Regions from separate parts of the Homo sapiens genome. Here region 1 is linked to region 2. The links are contacts of gene promoters, found by promoter capture Hi-C in blood cells and fetal thymus (Javierre and others, 2016). All regions are on one chromosome and are shown on one strand. The core of a region is centred on a gene start or on the middle of the fragment in contact, and the rest is flanking DNA. Distances in the headings are between cores, read along the strand shown. Region 1 overlaps PIK3C3 (phosphatidylinositol 3-kinase catalytic subunit type 3). Region 2 holds the start of PIK3C3 (phosphatidylinositol 3-kinase catalytic subunit type 3).

Region 1 (5,761 bases), core at 2,548-5,047, 90 kb before region 2:
TACTGAATATAAAAGCAGTTTGTGCAACTTTAATATCAATTTGTTTTCTAATGTCTCTGGTTTCTCATCTGAATTCTCAAATATGCAATCTTCATGTCTGTCACTTGAAACTCAAAGTACTATTTAAAAGAGAAAATCTTGTAGAATTCTGTTAAATTACAAAAGTCACTTGCATCAAAACTTAAGTTAGGTTCAGGAGACCTTAAATTATAACATGGGCCTAGCAATTCTAATATCAAATTGGACACAGTTAAAAGTCAACCGTCAATTATCCCATAACTCGTAACCATGTTATCTGTAAGATAACATAAGTAAATGCAGGGTTAAATTGTTTTTTAAGTCTGTGGAAAAATAATCTTGAAATGGAAGCAGATAGAAAACCAAATGCATTCATTTGAGTGGTAAAGACATTTATGAAGTTAACACAATAATCTTCTAAAGCATTAAGAAAAATTACATGATCAAGGCTAAAGGCAAAGACATTGGCTCTAGCTGTATTCTGTTATCTTTTTATTCTAAAAAAAGTCTGGAAATTTAGCATTTATTGAAACTACTTAAACAGAATTTAGCAAATAGCACCCTTTTGGAGTTTGTTTTTTTAACTATGTTTATTTCTACCATTAATAACCTGACAACAAACACAACTTGTAAACATATAAAACTATAGCAATATTTACAAAAACCTGTTTATTTCAGCCCATGTGTAAAAACAAGATGGGACCACCTGTTAATGAACTTATAACCCTGTTCAAATTCAATAAATAATAAAGTTCATTTGACTTAGGTTCTGAAGGCCATTCCAGAAGTCCAAAAGCAACTTAAGCAATGGCATAATTATTGGAAAAATAGTATTAATTAATAATAATCACAGTTACAATGTACTGAAGACTAGGCTCTTAGCTAGGCATATCATATTCATCATTTCTAACCTGTTTAATGATGCCAGTTAAGTAGATAACCATCCTTCAAATGAAAAACTTCAGGCTCCAAGAATTAATAGTATTGTTCAAAGTCACTGGGCTGGGATTTGTGTCCAATGAAATGTAAGCAAATATAGATGCAAGGAAAGCAGTTTTAAGCAAGCGGCTGACTCAGCTAGGAGGTTAGCCCTTTAGGCCTTTTCTCCTTCCTGTCTAGATTGCGACATGATGACTGTAGTTGCAGACCATAAGGAAAAGGGCAAGAGAATCACAGAGAAACACAGAGCCTTCACCTGGTCCTAATCACCTTAAATAGTTAGAACAACAGCAATTTCTTATAACTAGTTTTGTCACAAAAGAGAAAATAAACTCTTATGATTAAATCACTATAGGTACATTATGTTAACTGCAGCTAAATGCAATGATAACATTTAGTGGTCCACTGAGGAGGACTTAAAGGGTATCTAGATGAAGGGAGAATAAACTACAGCCTGATGGTCAAATCTGGTTCCCCTCAGTTTTTGTAAAGTTTATTTGAACACAGTCATACTCATTCATTTACACACTGGTTTAAGCATTACAATGGCAGGGTTGAATGGTTACACAGATCATCTGACTTGAAAAGCCTAAAATATTTACTATCTGCAAAGCTTTAGAGAAAAGTCTTACTCACCCTTGATCTAGAGCATTGCTACACAAAATGTGATCCCACAGACTGGCAGTATCACTATCACTTGAAAGCTTATTAAATATGTAAACTCTTCAGCCTTACTTCAGTCCTACTGAATCAGAATTTTTAGGGGCAGCAGCCACAATTCCATTTTAACAAGCTTTCAAAAATTACTATGCACACCAAAGGTTGAGAAGCCTTCTCTAAACTCTAGTGTATTGATGAACATAAGAATCACCTGAAAATCCTGTTAGAATGAAGATTCTGATCACAGAAGTCGGGTAAGGCCCAAGATTCTGTAATACAAACAAGCTCCCAGGTAAAGTCAATACTGTGGGTCCACAGATCACACTTTAAGTAGCACTGCTCTAAAACTGCCACAATACATGCAATTTCAAAAATGACTACAGACTCCCCATTGAAAAATAACTAAGTGACTTACTGAGGGATATTAAATTTGATATTCCTAAAGAGAAACTAAGTACAATACCCTGAGAACATATGAGAACTTAGTACACTTAGGTTCTCTAACATGTGATTCGTAGAAATCTACCTGCCACTCAAGGGTACTAAACTACCGATAATGTGCATATGAAGACAAGCGAAATTCCTACAATTTTGAAAAATAACATCACTGTACATCAGTGCAGCTGAGTTGTTCAATCCAGACCTACTTACTATTCCCATTTTTAAATTATAAATTACAGTTAGTTTTTGTCACTATTTACTTTGTTTCAAGTTTAGCTATCTCTATAGAATACTGATTCACCTGTGTTGCAACAGTTAATTCTGACCTAAAATTTTCATGTAACTGGATATACATGAATTATGCTTAATCCTAACGATAAAGCAAAATATTTCTATAAACTACTCATCATCAAATTTGAGAGTGCATTTCATTGTTATATGGAAATGCAAAAATAAGTAAGGGTCTTTTGCCCTGGCTCAGTGGATTATGGTCATAAATACGTTGGATGGTCATTCTGATAAACATGTTTAGTCAAGTGAAATATATGTATCAACATATGGCCATATTTAATAGTAAAGATGAAAATTTAGAGTGCTTCAATAGTTTAAAGTGTCAATACTCAGTAGGGCACTTTAAACAAGGCTACATCCTGAAAAATAACAACAAAACATTTGAGGTAAGAATGGGATGATCCTCAGAAACGTTGAGGAGATAACTAATACTCAGAATGATTTAAGATGACCTGAAATAAATTTGCTAGAAAATTTTTAGGGAAATTGATGTTATTCTTTAACTATACAACAATGGAAACACTATTTCTGTCCAAGAAAATCTTGTCAAAACAATGTTGTTAGTTTTTTTATTCCATGTGAGATACAAAACATCTTGAAATTGTTTTTATAAAAAAACTTTGACTTAAAGAAAAATATAAAGACAAATAGACCACTGATCCTATTTCCCTTTACTTAGTAAAGATATGTGTGTATGTGAGAATAAACAGTATTCCCACATTTAGCTGCATGATATACACTTGAGACTTTAGATAATCTGGAAAAGATGTCACCAAAACTATTATCAATTTTTTTCTTACACCCTGCAAAAACATTAAAACATTATTTTCTAAAATGAAAGTTACACAAAAACAGATTATTTTGTCATACAGGAAGCCATACAGAAAACAGAAGGCTCTTCTAGATGAAGAGAAGGCCTACCATTAAATCACTTACAGAGGAATGAATACATGTGAAATGTTGGAAAAAAGGGGAGAGATAAGATATAATGTGAATTTAACTGTCCAATAGGTAAGATAATTTAAATTGCTATTCTTTCCCCATGAAAAAGCCAGTCATATTTTCAGTAGCTCTTGGGGGGAAAATGGACCACTATACAAAAGACACAATGGTACGACATTAAGCATGTACCTGTAACATACCATTCTGATAATTTTACTAATGAGCAGAATTTTCAAATTGTAGTCAATACTGACAGGGCAAGCGTGTGTGTATGTATTTTGTGTGGAAAAAGTATTTCTTTATTAAACAGATTTATGACTTTAAAAGGTTTACAATAACTATGCTATAGTAAAAAGGTAAAAGATAATTATTTGGGGGTATATAAAACACCTCATGTAATAACGTACTAATGGAAATGGCCACAAATTCTGTGACACCCTTTTCATCCAGAGCTTGGATCTATATATATTCCGTCCCCTCAAATCCAGGAAGGCTCTAGGACTGCTCTGAACAACAGAATATAACAAAATATAGTTATACTATAAGCTGATATAGTACCAGCTTCCCAGCCCTGGCCTTCAGAAACTAGTATTTTCCATTTCCTGTCTGTCTGAATATTTGCTCTTGGAACCCAGCTCTAAGAGGCCCAAGCCAGGGACAGGTCATGTGTAGGTGATTCACAATAAGCCTAGCTAAGACAGTATAATCTGCCAATAATGTGAGTGATCCATCTTGGATGTTCAGCCTAGTTGAGCCTTTAGATGATATGCAATTTTTTTTCAGATCACAGAAAACATAGACTTGAAGGTCTGAGAAAAACAGAAGAGAAATGGGGCAAAATAAAGAAGAGAAACAAGAAAGGAGCAAGGGAAGAGAGAGAAACACAGAGTAAGAGGACAAGGGTAAACATTTTCTCTCAAAATCTTCAGTGTTTTTAAGTCTTTAAATACTGCATGTAATCACGTTTACAAACAAATTCAGTTACATGTAATATATGTTTATATTCCTATAGTAAAAACAAGAATTAAAACTATAAAGGACTCTAATTTATAAAACACAATTTTATTTCCATATTCTCAAAGTTCATTTTCTTTCTGCTTTTCAGACAAAAATGTATCATCACGAATAAATTTGAAAATAAGGTCCAAAATAATTTGGAAGGTGACTTCACAGGGGTGTTGTGAAAAACACAAAAATATTATGTATAAGAAAGCAACTTCTAAACCAGAAAATAATATGCAAGTTTAAATATAGTCTTAACAACTAACTAGAAAGCCCTCTTCTTGCTCTCCCAGCTTAAGCATAGGCATAAATAGGGACATAAACAAATATAGCGCTTATATAAAATAGTTATAACACATCATACATCCTGTCATTCAGGGCTCAACTCTAGTGTCAACTCCTTTACCAATCCTCCCATAAACAATCTAGTTATAAAAAAAATCAAAATAAAAAAATAAACATGCTGGGGATGGTGGCTCATGCCTTCAATCTTTGCACTTTGGGAGGCCAAAGCAGGTGGTGATCGTTTGAGCCCAGGAGTTTGAGACCAGCCTGGGAAACATGCCATAACCCTGTTTCTACAAAAAATACAAAAAAATCATCCAAGTGTGGTGGTGCACACCTCCTACAGTCCCAGGTACTCGGCGGGCTGAGGTGGAAGAATCACCTGAGCCTGGGAGGTCCAGGCCGCAGTAAGCTGTGATTGCGCCACTGCACTTCAGCCAGCCCGGGTGACAGAGTGTGATCCTGTCTCCAGGAAAAAAGGAAAAGAAAAGAAAAGAAAAAAATAAAGAAAATGAAAAAAAAAATCCTGTAGAATATAACCTTCGTGAAGTTAGACATAAATGCCTGAAGAATAAAAATTAATCCCTATGTCACTTACTATTTATTTCTAGGAAATACTACTACTGCTTTCTTATTTCTAGGAATGGACCATAAGGACTGACTCTAAAATACCACAAGGGCACCCTCTTAATGAAGCACCATTATCTTAGCTCTTAAACTTTATCTAAAGCACAATCATTTCTGATTGAAACTTTTCCCATGGTCTACTTAGTTTCTGTTATTCAAAAATAGAGAAAATCTAATGGAAAATTAACAGCTTCCAGGAAGAGATAAACTGTGATTATAAAATAGTTCAGTGATTACAAAGATATATCCATGAAAGACTAAATAGAATTTACACCTTGTTAATACTATTATGTCAAAGCATCAATGACTACTTTAATCAACATTTATCTTTTACTCTTCCTATAGAGCATTTAAATATTAACATGTTCTAAATGTATATGATTATGGCAATATCAGGATGGCCTGCTCTTCTTTATCTGATCAATGGAAAGTAATAGCCTGAAAAACTTACCACAGCTTTTAACGTAAGTGTCCATGACCTCAGCACTAATCCCATTTGGCCCATTCTCACTTGGTGCATATTTTCTAAAAAAGTTCTGAAAAGACATTATTTACA
Region 2 (6,306 bases), core at 1,820-4,319:
ACTCTTCTGAAAAAAACAGGAACTTCATGTTCATTATATTTACCCTGCATCTTGACAAGGTCTTGCTAATGTGCCATGCTGAATAAACTATGAATCTAAATAAATTAGTTTCATATGTAAAATAATAATAAAAATTTTATCTGAACCGATGGCAATAGATCTATCTCTAAAAATCTGAGCTCCAAACATCAGGTTGGACAATATTTCAGACTATCCAGAAGTATTTATGCATTCAAGAGCACAGGATGGTAAAGAATTTTAAAATGCCACAGACGTGTTTTTGTTTTTGGTCATGTAAATCAGTCAAGTGCTTATCAAAATGTCAATATGCTAACTACAAACATAAATCCATTTCTATTTCAATTGCAGTTATAATACTGACATGCATAATACTTTATCTGAGTATGTTTCTACTTCAAATGATTTGATCAATGCCTATAGGTATTAAGAAATTCCTCTATAATCCTACTAAATTATACTTGCAGCATCCATAAAGAAAGGTAAGAACAGTCTGTAACATACCATATGCCACAAAAAAACTTACTTCCATCTTGTACTAAATGCTTTGTAGGATGTTCTCACTGGCAAGGCCAAAGGCTTCCCTTCTGCAAAAACTTGACAAGTAACATAAAGATCAGAGCATGTCTCTTGATATAGTCCTGAGAACTTCAACATTGGGTCTTCCAGGACAGCTTTATAACTCTTTTGTTCTCTCTTCCCTTCCAAGCTTCCTCTGAAAGCACAAGACCAACAATGTTTCAGACATGAATTTTTTAAGCATGTACATATATACATAAGTACTAAGCATGTACATATATGCTTTAAGCATGTACATATATGCATAAGTACTAAAAAGTTTACCTTTGTGTTAAGGTATGCTACCTAAACAACATTTTCCTGTATATGAAATTAATGTCATTTTTATATATGATAAGGGTTTCTTAAAATCCTAACATACCTAATATCAGTCCCATCTTCATCAACACATTTCTCTATTTTATACTTCTGAATTTTAAACGCTGCCATTGACCCTTGATCTACCCTCTGGAAGTCACCAGCTTTCTAGGCCTTGGTTTCATTTTCTTCATTTCAAGTTGACCACATATTCATCTATTCTTTCAGGAAACATTTACCATAGTGGACAAAGAAGCCCAGAAGAAAGAAAAGATAAGCAATACAGTATTACAATAAAATATTAAGTCATTGCTTCTGGGGAAAAAAATTTACTTTTAACTGCATGTTTTTATTCTACTCTTTCCATTTTTTTCTTTTACTATGCATATGCATTGTCTGATCATTTCTTTAAAACAGTGGTATAAGTCATAAATAGATATGCACAGGATACTATCACAGAGGGAGGAACATTTTTTAGACATCAAGATTACATCAGATACTGTGCCAGGCATTTTATATTTTCTTTCTTACATAATTTTCACCATATTCTCATTTTATAAATGAGGAAACAGAGACTTATAAACTAAACTCCTTATCCACAGTCACAACGTAAGTAACAGAGCTGAGAATAAACACTAGGGCAGGGAGGCCAAAGCCAATATTCTTCCCATTACAGTAAGATAAATCAGAGTCTCAAGAGTACTTAGGCTGGCATGGGGAAGGGACTTAGTACCCCAGATAGATGTCTGAAATGATCCTGAACAATGCATGAGAGTTGAAGCAAAAGAAGCAGAACGTCATCCCAAAGGGAAAGGAGACAGAGTGAGACCCTGTCTCCAAAAAAAAAAAAAAAAAAAAAAGGGACCGGTTTTTTTGGCTTTTTCTTTATTTTTAATGTTCAAACATTTCAAAAAATGCATTCATATATCCAAGAAATACTGAGCATCAAGCTGAAGGAAAGCCCTTTATCAATATTGATCCTGTATAAACTACTAGTGGTGTATGCTATGGAAAATACCTTAAATGAGTGTATAAAGTATCATACAAAGGTACAAGGTGGTTGTTGACATATTACTTTTACCACCACCACCACAAACTAAAAAGTAAAGTATTTGTCAGCGAATAAGGGACTTCTGAAAATAAAATGAAATGATCATTCAAAGGTACATCAGACAACTGAGAAAATTTATCTATCACTTACTGCAGGCCTTTGACCGACACATATTTGTTGAATATTAATTGAACATACACAAGAAATGTTTATTAATTATGGATGATGCTATGGTCAATAATTTGTGATAGCTTTGACAACACTCCTACATGACCACCTTAAAAGGGACATAATTTCCAACTCTGTCTTGTGCATCCCTCGTCATTATACCAGTTCTATTATCCTCATCTCAAGATATCACGCCCTTGACCTTTACTTCAGCCGTGGTGCCCCAACGTTTTCCTGCAAAGACTCTTTTCTCCTATCTTCTTGGTACCTTTGAAACTGGAACCCTCATCTTCGACTTACTCCCAACTTCCCTGACTAAACACTGCCATACTACCCAAAGATTCACTCTAGGCCTCTATCACCTCCCGTGCTAATACACCATGTGCTCATCTTATTCTCAACTATCGCATCTGCCTGTGTCTACCTCTCCATAATTTCTGAAGCCTTCATTCCACCCTACAAGCCCCGTTCCAAAATAAAGATCGTCCTCTTACTTACGACGAGACTTGATTTCTTAATTTACAATGAAATAGTAATAAACTCTCAAAAGGCTGAACAGCAAAAACTTTAAAGACTGTAAAATACAGCGGAACTTAAGGGCTATTCCTACTGCTGTGCTTCTCACGGAGACCACGTATTAAATCCTTTTCCAAAAGAGCCCCTCTCCACGATCCACTCTCTCGCGCCTCCCTGGCTACAGCCCTCACAGCCGCCCCCAATCTGGGCCTTGAGACGAGTCACGTACTTTCTGCCTCTCACTCCCAACAGGCCCCTGCCCCCACGTCCCTACGCCCCAGCAATCCCACTCCCTGTCCCGAGTGTTCTCTTACATCTTAAGCTGGACGTTGATATCCAGGTCACAACTATAGATGTAGTGAAACTTCTCTGCTTCCCCCATCGCACCGTCTGCAAAGGTACCACCTACAGCGGGAACTTAGGTACAGGAAAAACAACATAAATGAACCAGCTGAGCCCCACAACACGGAACTTCCGGTTCCGCCCCCGCCAGCAAGCCGCCAATCCACGCCCGGAGCGAGTTCCGACGCGGCGGAACTCCCCGCCGAAACAACCCTTCCGCGCATGTGCACAAGGCGCCCACCATCTTGCTTAAGGGCAAATGTATACGGGAAACGGCTAATCTGGTTACATTCCAGTTTTCCTGTCTTGACAGCACTTTTTTTTTTTTTTAAAGAAAAAGAGACGCTATCATTTGAGCTTGAGCTGTACCTAAAACAATACGAAAGAAAATTCAATTCAAAAAGAATTATAACAGCTTTCACTGGCTGCCGGCTAAACAGGTTACAAGCACAAAAATTGGAATTTTGCCAGGTTTAAATTCCAGTGGCCTTCCCAAAAAGTGTAGCACTAATTTGCTATCTCAAGCAAGGATTTTCTCTTTCTGCTCTAAAGAGTAGGGAAAGGACTAAATAGAGAATAAATAAATCTGGGTTTCATGTTTGGTGTTGTCAGTATTCATGCTACTTTGGACATAATACTTGCGTGCATGTTTAAACTGGGAATATTCAAATTCAATGTAGTTTCAAGCCCTAACCCAAGTTAGAATCTAGAGGCCTCCTGTAATAACTACAGAACACAGATCTCTAAACCCTCTGAGCTCCTATAATGTTTGTTTTTATAATTATTATAATCTAAAATTGTAATACTCCCTTCCAATTAGATTGAAAACTCTTGGAAGGTAAGACCAGTGTGCCATTTACTTCCGTGTCTTGCCCCGCTAGCTGTCTAATGCATTGCTGAGTTTAATACTTCCTACTTACTGGTTATTAATGATGATATTGAATGAAAGTCTCCATTTTCTATGCCTTTATTTCTTTTTTTTTTTTTTTTTTGAGATGGAGTTTTGCTATTGTCGCCCAGGCTGGCACCATCTCGGCTCACTGCAACCTCCATCTCCTGGGTTCAAGCGATTCTCCTGCATCAGCCTCCCAAGTAGCTGGGATTACAGGCACCCGCCACCCAGTCAGGCTAATTTTTGTATTTTTAATAGAGATGGGGTTTCACCATGTTGGCCAGTCGGGTCTCAAACTCCTAACCTCCAGTGATCTGCCTGCCCTGGCCTCCCAAACTGCTATGTCATTTCTTTTTTTTTTTTTTTTTTTTTTTTTGAGACAGAGTCGCTCTGTTGCCCAGGCTGGAGTGCCCGTCTCTCTGTTGCCCAGGCTGGAGTGCAGTGGCGCGATCTCGGCTCACTGCAAGCTTCACCTCCCAGGTTCATGCCATTCTCCTGCCTCAGCCCCCCAAGTAGCTGGGACTTCAGGTGCCCGCCGTCACGCGCGGCTAATTTTTTGTATTTTTTAGTAGAGTCAGGGTTTCACCGTGTTAGCCAGGATGGTCTCGATTTCCTGACCTCGTGATCCGCCCTCCTCGGCCTCCCAAAGTGCTGGGATTACAGGCGTGAGCCACCTCGCCCAGCCTATGTCTTTATTTCTAAGTGCTGCATTTTAAGACGGACATCACTAAAGTATGTGCAAAATGGCGTAATTAGAATGTTGAGGGATTAGAAAAAAAATATTTCCAAGAAAGGGTGAAAGGTGTGGAGCTGTTTAACCTGGAAAAGGAAAAAAAATGGCTAATGCAGAATGTTTTACACAAAATAAGTTCTCAAAAATATTTATGGAGGCAAGAAAAGGATTTGGGTAGAATAAAGAAAAACATGATAGTTATCCTCCTATAACTTAAAGTTTAAACAAAAAGAGCACCTTTGATTTGTTCCTAAGAATAACTGCCACCAATGGTTGGAACTTACAGGAAATGTAATTTCAACAAACAATACAAATTGAACTTTCTAATTATCACAGCCATTCAACAGTAACACTGTTGTCACAAGTACTCTGTTTAAGGCATAACTCCAGCAATGAGTGTGAGGTTTGATGTGAAACCTCAATCTTGAATAAAATATTGACAATGTGTAAAGGAGTAAATTATCTGATCCCAGTGGTGAATAAATTACTTTCATTATGTAATGGTATTTAATGTATAAACCTAAGATAATATTATATACATATACAACCAAACAAATTTACAAATTAAATATAAAAACTTCAAATTAACAATCTTAATATAATAGTGGGATTTTTTACGGAAACTGTTGTTTGCAAAATGATTATGGAATATAGTGTTGGCTACTCTTACAGGACTGATTCTTTGAAATTCAGCACGTCTATACTGCTATATTCCACAGGGCAATTCATTTTTCTAGACTCTTTTTCTCTATTCAAATAACTATGAACTCTTCATGAGTGTAACCACCATGATGTATTCTGGCTTTATCTTGCCTACAACACATCTTTTTGTTTTAAGCCTGACTTTGTCCTTTTCTCATTAGCTCATAACAATTAAAGTAATACTGATTGTTTCCAAAACAGTTGCAAACACAACACAGATAAAAGCATGAAAATCAAATGTCAGTACTTAGTTATAAGATATTCATTCACAGAACCCAAAATAGATTTAACTTTTTAAAGATTATCAAGAGAAAAAAATAACATTAAAAATGTATTATAGAGGGATCTCAGAAAACTTGACTGTAGTTGTATTAAATATGTTAATACATCAAGGAAAACTAATGTGCCAATAAGGAGCAAGATTTTGGTAAGTCATGGAAGCATGGAAAGAATTATTATAGAAACCAAAACTCTCAGTGCCTTTTGTACTGTAAGTCAGGGAAGTGTTGGTTGGTAGACTTGAGTATCAGAATTCAATTAACAAGGCCATCTCTATAAGAGAAAAGGAAGCCTTAAGCATCTTATTTTGAAAGGAGAGGAATGATTTTTTCCTTCCCATGTGATTTTCATGAATCATGAATATAACATACGCTCATAATTATGGGATACAATTTGCATTGCAAGAGTCCACGGTGGCCTGTCTGCAGAAAAATAACTTACAGAAATAGGTGTTTTCTTGGTGTGGTAGGCTCTTCCAATGATTATTATATGATCCCATATTTAATTTTCCCTTGGAGTTGCAGTTTTGGCTTTGTGCTTCTTTTGCCACCTTGTTTCAATTTCTATTTTAATTATTCTAGTAACCAGTTTTAATGATGGCTTAGAAATGTGTTGATTGTGCCCCATTTCTTCCTTCCTTCCTTTCTTTCCTTCCCTTCCTTCCTTCCTTCCCCCTTCCCTTCCCTTCCCTTCCCTTCCCCTCCCTTCCCTTCCTTTCCTTTTTCCTGA

What was found. The method cuts DNA at HindIII sites, captures the fragments that hold promoters and counts their contacts. A CHiCAGO score of 5 or more calls a contact.
Region 1: a contact is called between a fragment that was not itself captured here and the fragment with the promoter of PIK3C3 in region 2, in 1 of 17 cell types (total B cells). The highest score is 6.3, in total B cells.

Annotation. Positions count from the first base shown.
Region 1 is chr18:42,043,713-42,049,473 of GRCh38, reverse strand. It overlaps PIK3C3 (phosphatidylinositol 3-kinase catalytic subunit type 3), which reads right to left. Exons shown (of 25, transcript NM_002647.4): 20 at 5,657-5,741. Among named protein-coding and RNA genes, the nearest start is that of PIK3C3, 91 kb to the right of the region's middle. The HindIII fragment of the contact is 4,090 bases long and covers 1,753-5,761 here.
Region 2 is chr18:41,951,997-41,958,302 of GRCh38, reverse strand. PIK3C3 (phosphatidylinositol 3-kinase catalytic subunit type 3) reads right to left here and starts at 3,069. Exons shown (of 25, transcript NM_002647.4): 1 at 2,944-3,069; 2 at 545-733. The coding sequence starts at 3,011. RefSeq lists an enhancer at 3,112-3,291. The HindIII fragment of the contact is 3,603 bases long and covers 730-4,332 here.